Linked DNA regions of Homo sapiens: regions 2 and 3 are each linked to region 1. The links are contacts of gene promoters, found by promoter capture Hi-C in blood cells and fetal thymus (Javierre and others, 2016). All regions are on one chromosome and are shown on one strand. The core of a region is centred on a gene start or on the middle of the fragment in contact, and the rest is flanking DNA. Distances in the headings are between cores, read along the strand shown.

What was found. The method cuts DNA at HindIII sites, captures the fragments that hold promoters and counts their contacts. A CHiCAGO score of 5 or more calls a contact.
Region 2: a contact is called between a fragment that was not itself captured here and the fragment with the promoter of DNAH5 in region 1, in 1 of 17 cell types (endothelial precursors). The highest score is 5.6, in endothelial precursors.
Region 3: a fragment that was not itself captured here is called in contact with the fragment with the promoter of DNAH5 in region 1 in 1 of 17 cell types (endothelial precursors); the score reaches 5.2 in endothelial precursors.

Annotation. Positions count from the first base shown.
Region 1 is chr5:13,942,861-13,946,437 of GRCh38, reverse strand. It overlaps DNAH5 (dynein axonemal heavy chain 5), which reads left to right and starts at 1,750. Exons shown (of 79, transcript NM_001369.3): 1 at 1,750-2,056. The coding sequence starts at 2,000. The HindIII fragment of the contact is 10,431 bases long and covers 1-3,577 here.
Region 2 is chr5:10,990,121-10,993,697 of GRCh38, reverse strand. It overlaps CTNND2 (catenin delta 2), which reads left to right. Exons shown (of 22, transcript NM_001332.4): 19 at 1,021-1,147. Among named protein-coding and RNA genes, the nearest start is that of CTD-2154B17.1, 200 kb to the right of the region's middle. The HindIII fragment of the contact is 1,566 bases long and covers 752-2,317 here.
Region 3 is chr5:11,266,450-11,270,026 of GRCh38, reverse strand. The region is part of intron 9 of CTNND2 (catenin delta 2); the gene reads left to right. Among named protein-coding and RNA genes, the nearest start is that of CTD-2154B17.1, 480 kb to the right of the region's middle. The HindIII fragment of the contact is 5,464 bases long and covers 1-3,577 here.

The sequences.
Region 1 (3,577 bases), core at 501-3,000:
ACTTCCAGTGAGCCTGAGCGCTCAAGAAGATACCTTAAGACGCCATCTACCTTGCCCGAGGGGTTGAAATTCAGCCACACAGACTGGAAGGCTTCCCGGTTTGCTGTGAAGCCTCAAGGGAGTCATGGTTATGCCTGCCAAACACAAAATGCATGCCATCAGCCATCTGTGGAAATCTTCCCAGGAAGTAACTCTCCCCAAGCGATGCGTTGTAAATGGGCTGCTGCTGCAATGAGGATGGTGCCTAAAATACCATTAGGGAAGCACCGATTCAAATGTAACTAATGAAAGATAATCGGCGATGTAATGAATTGTAACATGTTTGTCCTGAGGTCATGTGTTGACAGAGGATTCTTGGGATGGATAGGAGATGCCATGTGAGGAGGATCCGATCCTACTGCTATTTTCTGGTGTCTTCAGCACCACACAGAGAAGGGACTCAGAGTCTAGATACTGTCTTCAACACTTTTTATTAGAAACGGACAACAGCCGCTTACCAACAACCAGAGGTTGACTTCAACAAATATCCTGCAGGGCCTGGCCTGGTGGCTCATGCGTATAATCCCAGCACTTTGGGAGGCCGAGGTGGGCAATTGCTTGAGGCCAGGAGTTTGAGACCAGCCTGGGCAATGTGGCCAAACCTGTTTCTACAAAAAATACAAAAATTAGCCGCGTGTTGTGACACTTGCCTGTAGTCCCAGTTACTAGGAAGGCTGAGGTGGGAGGATCACCTGAGCCTGGGAGGTTGAGGCTGTGGTGAGTGGTGGTCACGCAACTGCACTCCAGCCTGTGTGACAGAGTGAGACCTGCAGGTCTCAAAAAAGAAAAAAAAAATCCTGCAAACAAACTTAAACTTCCTGTGTTCTAGTTATTTACTTACCAAATAATATTGAGGTCTAAATGTTGTCTGTTAACCTGACATATGGAGGCCGTCCGTGCCCTAGCATTGGATATGGACCAAGTGAATCTCCATGTTCTGAAACCATGTCAGCACCCTGCCTTCCAAGTCAGGCTCCACAGAGGTTGACTAGCAGGATGTTACCAGGATGAGTTCCCAATTTCCTGATTATCCTTGGATGACCTTTTAGGATTTGAGTTGCTGGACTGTGAATTCCAAGGACTAAATTCTAGATTCAACAAGACCAACCTTAAGTGTCCTGCCTTTTATTCAACTCGATGGGAGAAACCATACATGAGAGATCTCTCAAAGCATTTGGCAGTGTTTTCCCATTACATCTTCACAGTTAAGATGATCAAGATGTTTAGCCACATAGGATAAATTACCTTGGCTGAAGTGTATGTGCAACTGTGTGAGCACAAGTAATTTATGGACATGGTTTGCTATTTGCATATGAAACAGACTTCTTGTTCTTTGTGGTGGAGAAAATGGCTCCTATGGGTCACAATTAGCCTATCTGGCAATTAGTCACAATTAGTCACAATGCTGGCAGTGCATCGTGCTTGCAAAGTTGTTTACACAAAGTAAGACTGAGTTTCTCGACATGGACAATATATTCAGAGCTGTGGCTTCTTGGATTTCTAATCTGATATGGTTTAAAGTTTCTCATTGTTCAAAGAAACTATTTAGATATCACTGTTGACTCAATGCTTATTATTGGGCAGTGAATAGAATTAATTGAACAACAGAAGGAGTTGTGTTGCTACCGAGCAGTTAAAATGCTTTGATTGCTTGATAAACATGATTAAGAGGCATGGTTCAACTGTATAGTGTATAAACAATATTACCCTAACAACACCAGGCTTCGAGAGAGAGGAGAGGCCCAGGGCAGACACTCTAGGAGAAAAACTTGAGTGGTATAAGTGGAGTTTTAATTTTTATTCTGTGAATGTAGTGAATAATACATGCAAATTAGAAACGTGAAAGTAAAATGGAAGTAAAACTTTCCATTTGGAAGCCTGTTGGATGTTGAGCAGGTCTGCCAGGAGTTAGAAGACCATTCCGGAAGAGCTGACTCCAGCCTGTCCATGCACGGCTACAATGTTTAGGATTGGGAGGAGACAGCTCTGGAAGCATAGCGTCACTCGAGTTTTAACGGTAAGGTGCTGTTGTCTGTACCTTTGCATGTGTGTTTTGGATTATCATCTGTCACACCTGGGTGGAAAAAACAAACTTGAAAAAGGTTCAAAGTCACACACTGATGAATTTGCGAGAAACACATTTTTTAACTAATGTTCACCTGGTGCATAGGCTACATATTCATTTTTTAAATAAAAAAAATTTTGCATCTGTAGGCTTTTCTGCACGTTGCCGCTTAAACTACGCACCTAGAAATTCATGCTGCATCTTTTGGGAAGATGCTTTCCTGGGGTCAAAAACACATTCATAGTGGTTTGGGCACTTTGTATTCTTTCAAACCTGTAAACTTTAGTTGGTGATTAGAAATAGTTAAGGCAGATTCTAGGCTGCAAGGTTTAGGCTTTGAAATCACTCCCCTGTTCTATATGCCTGCAAATGAGGTCACAGACAGTGAGATGCAAGGCTGTGCCTTTGGAAATCACATTGAAGAATGAACTTCCCTAGCACAGGGCTCAGCTCAGCAGCTTTTTATTATGCAAATGCATAGAGAGGGATTTGGAAACCTCTTCCACTGCCAATTAACGTCAGAAGAAATTGGAGGTTTCTCTAGGACTCAGTTCTCAACCATTAACCCATGCTTCCTACTGGGCTTGATCACTGTGTCTTTTTGTGTATCCCCAGAAGCTCACATGATCCCCCCTAGCCTGTTGTTTTTACCACAAAAGAGCAGGCATCTACCTCTGAATTTTTTAAGTATGCCACCATCTGCCACCCCTCACTTGCCCAAGCCACAAGATTCTGATGCATCCTTCCCAAGGTGAACGTCTTGCAGCCAAGCCCCTGAACTTGCTTGCTAGAGTTAGAAGACCATTCTGGAAGAGCTGACTCCAGCCAGTCCATGCACTGCTTATTCTTCAAGACCAAGTGCTAGTGTTACCTCCTCTGAGAAGCGTCCCCTGACACTTTGAGGAGGAGGTGTGAGTTTCCTTCCTGTACCCTGTCAGCACTTTCCTTCGATGTCTTATAGAGTCCTTGTCACATCACTGTAGTGAAATGACATTTACCCACATGTCTCTTTCTCTTGCTAGATTGCGAGTTCTCTCCATTTTAAAATAATCTTCCTTTAACACAGAGCTTGGTCCATAGTATATGCTTGGTCCTTAATATATGCTTGTGGAATAAGTTGAATGAATTAAACATTTCACATGTCTGAACATTTTTCCTGTGCTTCAGTACCAAGTCTGAAACACCACAATTGATGATAAAATCTCAGGTATAATTAATGAATTATTCTTCCTTGACATGAACTATGTTTTGAGAGTAAGTCAAGTCTTTTGGAGGTTTCAATTATATATTTAGGATGCTGGTTTGGTTCACTCCACTGAAGTATAATATTAACAGAATTACCTTAATAGTATTGCAGTGTATTATGTAAATAATTACACAGTTTCTACTTAGTGCACTGTGTTAAAGAAAAAAAATTATTCAGTGACACTTGGTAAAGCATGGTAAAGTAAGACTTTATTCACGACCGTCGTG
Region 2 (3,577 bases), core at 285-2,784, 3.0 Mb after region 1:
TACTAGGTGCTAACTGTGTGGCAAGATTCTCTGAACAATCCCAAGAGAACAAAGCATTGAGCCCCTTAAAAGTCTAAATGTTGTCAGGGGAAAAAAATAAAAAATCTAAAAGAATTGAAAGCAATGGCCTCTGTAAAGGAGGATTTGGGGGTGGAGCAGGTGACTGCTTTTCTTTGCTATAATGTTAGTACTATTTAACATGTTACTTTGATAAAAATAAAATCTATTTAAAAAAGAAAAAAAGACTGGAAGGAAATACCATGACAGGTTAACAGGAGTTCTCTCAGGTGGAGAGGGTGGAATTACCACCTATTTTTATTTTCTTCTTTATGCTTTGTAAATTCACAAAATAATCTGTGATATATTTATGCGGTTTTTATAAGGAAAAATAGTATAGATGCTTTCTGTATATTAACTAGATGTCAGAAGCCTAACGGAGGCTTGGTAGGATGCATTTTGAATATGCTCTATATTGAAAAATATCATTCCTGGAGCAGACCAGCTTGGAGACAGGCGAGGGTGGGCATTTGGGGCTGGAAAGGACACAGGCAGGTAAACGGGAAGGGAGGACGCTGCCCTGGATTCTGGTTGCCAACAGATAGGTCCTGGGAGCAAAGGGGTAAACCCTTGTGGAAAATCTTGAGGCAGCGGAAGAGGGAGCCAGGCAGAGCTGGAACCAGGTCGGCAAAAAATAGACAGTTTCCGGGTCCCCTAACATTCTGAGCATCGTATTTTCATCGAAGTCGAAGCTTCTGACCAGAGCGGGTTTGTAAAGGGACCATTTATTCAACATTCATGAAGGAAAGCAGGCCCTACCCGCCAGGCTCTCTGGAGGGAAGGAGGTGTGTCTTCATTCACATTTGGCTCTGTTCACCTCCATGAGAGCGCAGAACTTCAAGAACCTCTTCTGACACACCATAGAAATATTATGCAAATCCAGATACTTGGAACTTAAAAATGTCCGGAGGTGAAAAATCACTCTGTCTTGCCCATCTAACAGGAGCGTGCTGTGTTTTGCAGGATGGATGGTCACAATACCACTTTGTAGCCTCGTCTTCAACCATCGAGAGGGACCGGCAAAGGCCCTACTCCTCCTCCCGCACGCCCTCCATCTCCCCTGTGCGCGTGTCTCCCAACAACCGCTCAGGTAAGAGGCTGCCGTGGCTAGCCAGCCAGGCTTTATTTCTCGTTGAGCAAAGACGGTCCTTCCCAGTCCGTGAGCCAACCCGTACTCAGAGGAGAGCCTTCCATTCAGACCTTCGCTAGAAGTAGGAAATGAATCTGTTCTTTGTACTGTGGTGGCCACTCTGTGTTTTGTATACACAGACTCAGAGCAAATCTCCTTCTCTAACAGGTTCTTATGCATGACATGCACGTAATGAACCTGAATTCAGGAGGAACGAGTATAAAGAAAACTGTCATGTGTCTGCAAATCCGGGGTTTCCGTGGACAATTTTTCCAACTTAAAATAGTTTGAGTTGGCCTGGCGAGGTGGCTCATGCCTGTAATCCCAGCATGTTAAGAGGCTGAGGCAGGCGGATTGCCTGAGCTCGGGAGTTCGAAACCATCCTGGGCAACATGGTGAAACCCCGTCTCTAGTAAAAATACAAAAATTAGCCGGGCTTGTTGGCACACGCCTGTAATCCCAGCTACTCGGGAGGCTGAGGCAGGAGAATCACTTGAACCCGGGAGGCCGAGATTTCAGTGAGCAGAGATCGCGCCACTGCACCCCAGCCTGGGTGACAGAGTGAGACTCCGTCTCAATAAATAAATAAATAAATAAAATAAAAATAGTTTGAGTTGCATTTTGTCATAATTGGGATAAAAAGTTGAGGAGACCAAATGTGCTTTCTTCCTTCAGTGTGATATACATTTGACACATAGCACTGATGCTTTCATAACTGTTCCACATCTAATTGGCTTTTCATTATTAATGATAAACCGGCAGATGCCACTGATAAATTATTATCGTAGCCAACTATAACTTCCATGTCATTCCATTTAATTTTTTTCTAATTTTGTCACATTCCTATTGCTTAAATTTTGAACTTCTTGTATTCGTAAAAATACTTGATTTTTATACCCTTTTTAATTCACATTAAGAAATGCCAAAAATCAGAGGAAAGATGAAAGGCAAATGTGAACACACCATTTAGTAATATAAATGGCATAAATTTGCTGTTTTCCTCACAGTTTAGTTTTTAAAACTTTTATTTTGATTTCTGCATTTTGATTTTGTTCTGAGAGTGAAAGATGGATAACAAGTTATATGCACCCACACAGATGACAGCTATGTAGGCTCTTATTTATGAAAGCTTTCTTCCTACTCTTCTCTGCCCTCTCCCTGCTGAGGAAATCCTATTCTCTGAAATGACACCTGGGAGGACCTGGTAGAGAGCATTGCCCAGCAAAGTGGTCTCCCTACCCGCGAGAATGATGGTTGCAGAACTCCACGCCAGACTTTACTGTCAACATGATGAGAAATGAATGGCCAATATCTGACTGAAATAAATGGCCCGCTCCCAGCTCTGTGAAAGCTGATCCTTCTAGTGTACTGTCATTGCTTATCACATTTAGTCCAACCCTGGGTGACGATCAGGAACCCCCTGTACCTGTGGAAACGTCCACCCATCTCAGAAGCATGGAGGTGGCCTCTTAGGCCTCTTATTTCTGTAATTCCAGCAGGCTTAAAAAGATAAAGCGCATGGAGTGTGGAAAGCATATGGATGGTGTCTTTTGGAAAGCAGTGATTATTAAGAATTACAGTGAGCCAATCAGTGTTATGAGAATGAAACGACATGATGGATCGGCAAGGGCTGGAAGAGAGAAGCAGCCTTTTCTCGCGAGCAGGCAGGGCTGTGTTCAACCAGCCATGCAGACAGTGCGCTGCCTCAGGACTTCCTAGGCGAGGCACATCCAGACACCTAATAAACACTTGTTTGCGTGATTTGATTTTTCCCAGAACTTAATCCTGATTTACCAGAGACTTGGAGCACCGCTGTGTGTGAGGTCTCAGGAGATAATTACACACTTGATGTGGTTTAATAAACACCACCATCTGGGCAATATTGGATTCTAATTTTAAAAGCTGTGGTCAACAGGTTTTAAAATATTGTCCCTTCATGATTATGTGGCAGTAACTCATAAAAGGCTAACCTTTATTAGGGAAGACCCAGAGGCAAAAGGGCAAAGGCAGGAAGAGAGACTTTCCTGGAAGAGAAAGATGGTGAACCAAAGAGAAGGGGGCAGCAGGTGGAAGAGGTTAGCGAGGAACCAGCGAGCAGACAGGAACTGGATGCAGAGCCCAGTTGAGTGACAGGGCACAGAGCTTGCTAAGGACTCAGTTGTTCTTGCAGAGGTTCCCTCTCCAAGCAACAGAACCCCAATCTTCATACGACACAGTGGCTGCCCCTCACATCTCCCCAGATTCACATTCGGGACAGAGATGGCCCAAGTCCCAGCCTTTGTCCTCTCCCCTGGAACCTCTCTTCCCTCACAGCAGAGCCTGGGCATTCTCTCCACCTACACAGGGTCACTGTGGATCAGGGAGGTTCAGTCCTTGATCAAGTCATTGCAG
Region 3 (3,577 bases), core at 727-3,226, 2.7 Mb after region 1:
TGGTGAAATACAATGTTTGTGAATGTTGTTTTATACATGTGTAAATTTTTGAAAAATAATTGTCATGTGATTAATATTTCCAGGGTTGACATAATCCTGCAATTCAAGGCTCCGTGTTTTTTTCGTTTTCAATCACTAGCATAATTTTTCTAGAGAAGCATCTAACTTTCTGACCAGGTCTGCCTTTTGGTTTATGTTATATTGAAGTAAATACAGATGATGTCCTGCATATTCTGAGGGGGGAGGGATTTTACTCCTGTAAAAATCATTCTGCAGGGGTCCAAAGTACAAGTCTGGAGAGGAACTCTGGCAGCAGTTTCAAAGAGAGGCACCTTTTTTGTGAATATTGACATTTATGCCAACCATCTATTGTGAACTTCCTATTCATGTGGTCTTTGTGGAGCCAGAAGCACTGATTTCTTTATATTAAACATAGCAATCTATGTCAGTTCATTCAACCCCATTACAGTACAATGAGTTAAATACGTGCTGTGGTCCAGTTGAATATTAGGTATGAATACAATGCAAATGTAGCCTGAAATCTAGATCCTTCTGAAGTGAAGAGACAGTGTGCTGTTTTTAAAGACTGTATCTATTTTGGTAAGATCAATAAATCAGAGGAAACTATTTTCTAGCATTTCTATTATAATAAACGAGAATAGATTTCAAAGAGAAGTTTTGCAGATCAAGGGCCCCAAAGTGTTATAAAGCTGTTTTCTTACATTTTTGAAGGCTAAGGAGCAAATAAAGATGAGTGATTCAGTATCACTAGCTTGGGGTAAGCGCTGTTCAAAGCGCACTGCCTCGCTTTCCCCCATTCATTCCTCTTCACTTCTATAAGCTGGCTGCTGTTATTTTTCCATTTTACAGCTGAGCAAACTAAATCCCGGGGAGCTAATGTAGCTTGCCCACAGTCTCACAGTCAGTAAGCAGAGAAGCTGGACTCAAGCCAAGGCAGGTAGCCTCCAGAGGCCATGCTCTTAGCTGTGTTGTTGTATTTCTAAAGGAAAAGTTTCGGTAAAAGGAACAGAGTGAGCATTTATGCATGGTTGAAATGAGGACAGTTCAGTTTTGTTAACTAACATTCCCTATCTCTTCAGACCGCTATGAGAATCCTACTGAAAACCTTTGCAACAGTGGCAGAGTTTAAAAGGGTCAGTGTGCACATTGCTCCCTGCAATGAACATCTTGTTTTAAAAGAAAAAAAATTACCCGTAATTTTGAAGACATAAGTACAAATTTAAGTAACTGTCTGCAGGCACATGAGCTCTAAATGGTTAGTGTTGTGGTAAAAAAATGCAGATTGTGATGGCATAAATGAGTCTTCATTACATCATTTTTTAATCCATTACACCATTATAGTGTGATAGTACTTTATATATATATTTGCTATGTTATTTTTATGTTATTTTTTCTTTTGTGTGTATCAGAGTCTTACTCCATCACCCAGGCTACCCAGGCTGGAGTGCAGTGGCATGATCTTGGCTCACTGCAACCTCCACCTCTCAGGTCAAGTTCAAGCAATTCTCGTGCCTCAGCCCCCAACACTGAGTAGCTGAGACTGCAGGTGCATGCCACCACGCCCAGCTAATTTTTTGTACTTTTTAGTAGAGATGAGGTTTCACCATGTTGTCTAGGCTGATCTTGAACTCTTGGCCTCAAGTGATCTGCCCACCTCAGCCTCCCAAAGTGCTGGGATTGCAGGCATGAGCTACCGTGCCTGGGCTGTTGCATTATTTTTAAATCGAATCTTTGGTGACTGAGAAGATACCTTACTGAAATTACTATTTAAACTCACTCAAAATAGGTTTTTAAAAATGTTTACATTTTTAAATATCCATGTGGAAAAGGAAATGTTTGACACATGTTCCGTGCCTCATGGCACCTACCTGGATTTTCCAGAAATGATGCTGGTGTCTAGCATCTCTAAAAACCCCTACTTCTTTCAAGGTCTCTTCAACCATTGGTAGAATCACACCTTCTACCATTGCCACTTTTGGATTTGAAACAGTTTTTTGGGACTTCGCAACAATCATTGGTTTGTTCCATCTGCCTCCTTTCTAGTTTTCTCATTAAAGTTTTTCTGGATGACAGCGATGATTTCCTACTCTTTTTCAAAGCCCATCTTCTTGTGCATCATACTATGACTTCACGTTCAACATCAGGAAATTCAGAGGAGGCAAAATGCCTCTCATTCTTCTCTCTAAGGGATCTAGTAAGAACATTAATGCCACTGGCAAAATCTTTTTTGCGAACTTTATTTGAATAGCCAGATGTTTGTGCAAAATATAATGAGCTACTAGAACTGAAGATTTTCCTTTATATCAGACAATTCTGGTTATTATCAGGACAGGTTTCTAACATTTGCAAAGTGTGTGCAGTCCTTTTAAATCACACGGTGGGCATTTGCCATTTCAGGGCTGGGCAAATAGATTGGTTCCCTCGTTGTTAACAGGCCCCCACACAAGGGAGTTGCAGAAAAGACAACCAGTTGCTTAGGTCTTTCAAGTTAATAAAAATATCTTAAAGGGCTCATTTATCTGTGTCCCAGTTAATGACTGGTGACATCTAGTGGTGGCTGGATTGCAGGCACTCAAATGGCTTTCCCCTGGAGAGGCAGATCCAAAATAAACTGTAGAAATGTTTTTCAAGCCTCTCAGATGAGACATTTACAGACTGATGAGGTCAAACCCCATCACCACGTAGCCCAATTGCCAAATCACCCATCACCAGCCATCAGCCATCACTGAGGATTAGCCGTTAGCTCCACGTGGGGAGAATCCATCAGGTCCCCTCCTGCAGAAGCATGCCCTTCCCAACAGTACTGTCTCATGGAAAGTCAGCTTCAGGTCGGGCACGGTGGCTCACGCCTGTAATTCCAGCACTTTGGGAGGCCGAGGTGGGTGGATTACCTGAGGTCAGAAGTTCGAGGCCAGACTGGCCAACATGGCGAAAACCCATCTCTACTAAAAATACAAAAATTAGCCGGGCGTGGTGGCGGGCGCCTGTAGTCCCAGCTACTCGGGAGGCTGAGGCAGGAGAATTGCTTGAACCCTGGAGATGGAGGTTGCAGTGAGCTGAGATCGCGCCATTGCACTCCAGCCTGGGCAACAGAGTTGGACTCCGTCTCAAAAAAGAAAGTCAGCTTTAGGTCGTCTCTTTGCATTTGTGGCAGTTCGAGAGTAGGAAGCATTTGTATCTCCCTGGAAGAGTTTCCACTTCTGAAGCCAACCCATAATGGCAGCTTCTTTATTAAAATATGTGCAGTGGAAATTATGCTAATTAAGCTGGAGTGTAATTATAGACTAGAAAGATTCTCTCTTGCAGTCTGAATTGAATTGTTGTAGATAAATGTGCATTAACTTAATAGTGTACAGCTAATTATGAAAGGTAAAGGGGAGGAAGAGATGTAATCAGTTCCACAATGTTTTAGAGATGCCGCTCTCCCAAGCGAACCCTCCCATGAAAGCCCAGGTAACCCTGTAATGAGAATTCTTCTAGCATTTGTGCCTGATTTTCAATACTGCAATTAAAATGGCCACTGGTGACTAATTAACCCATTTAACTCTATTTGTCT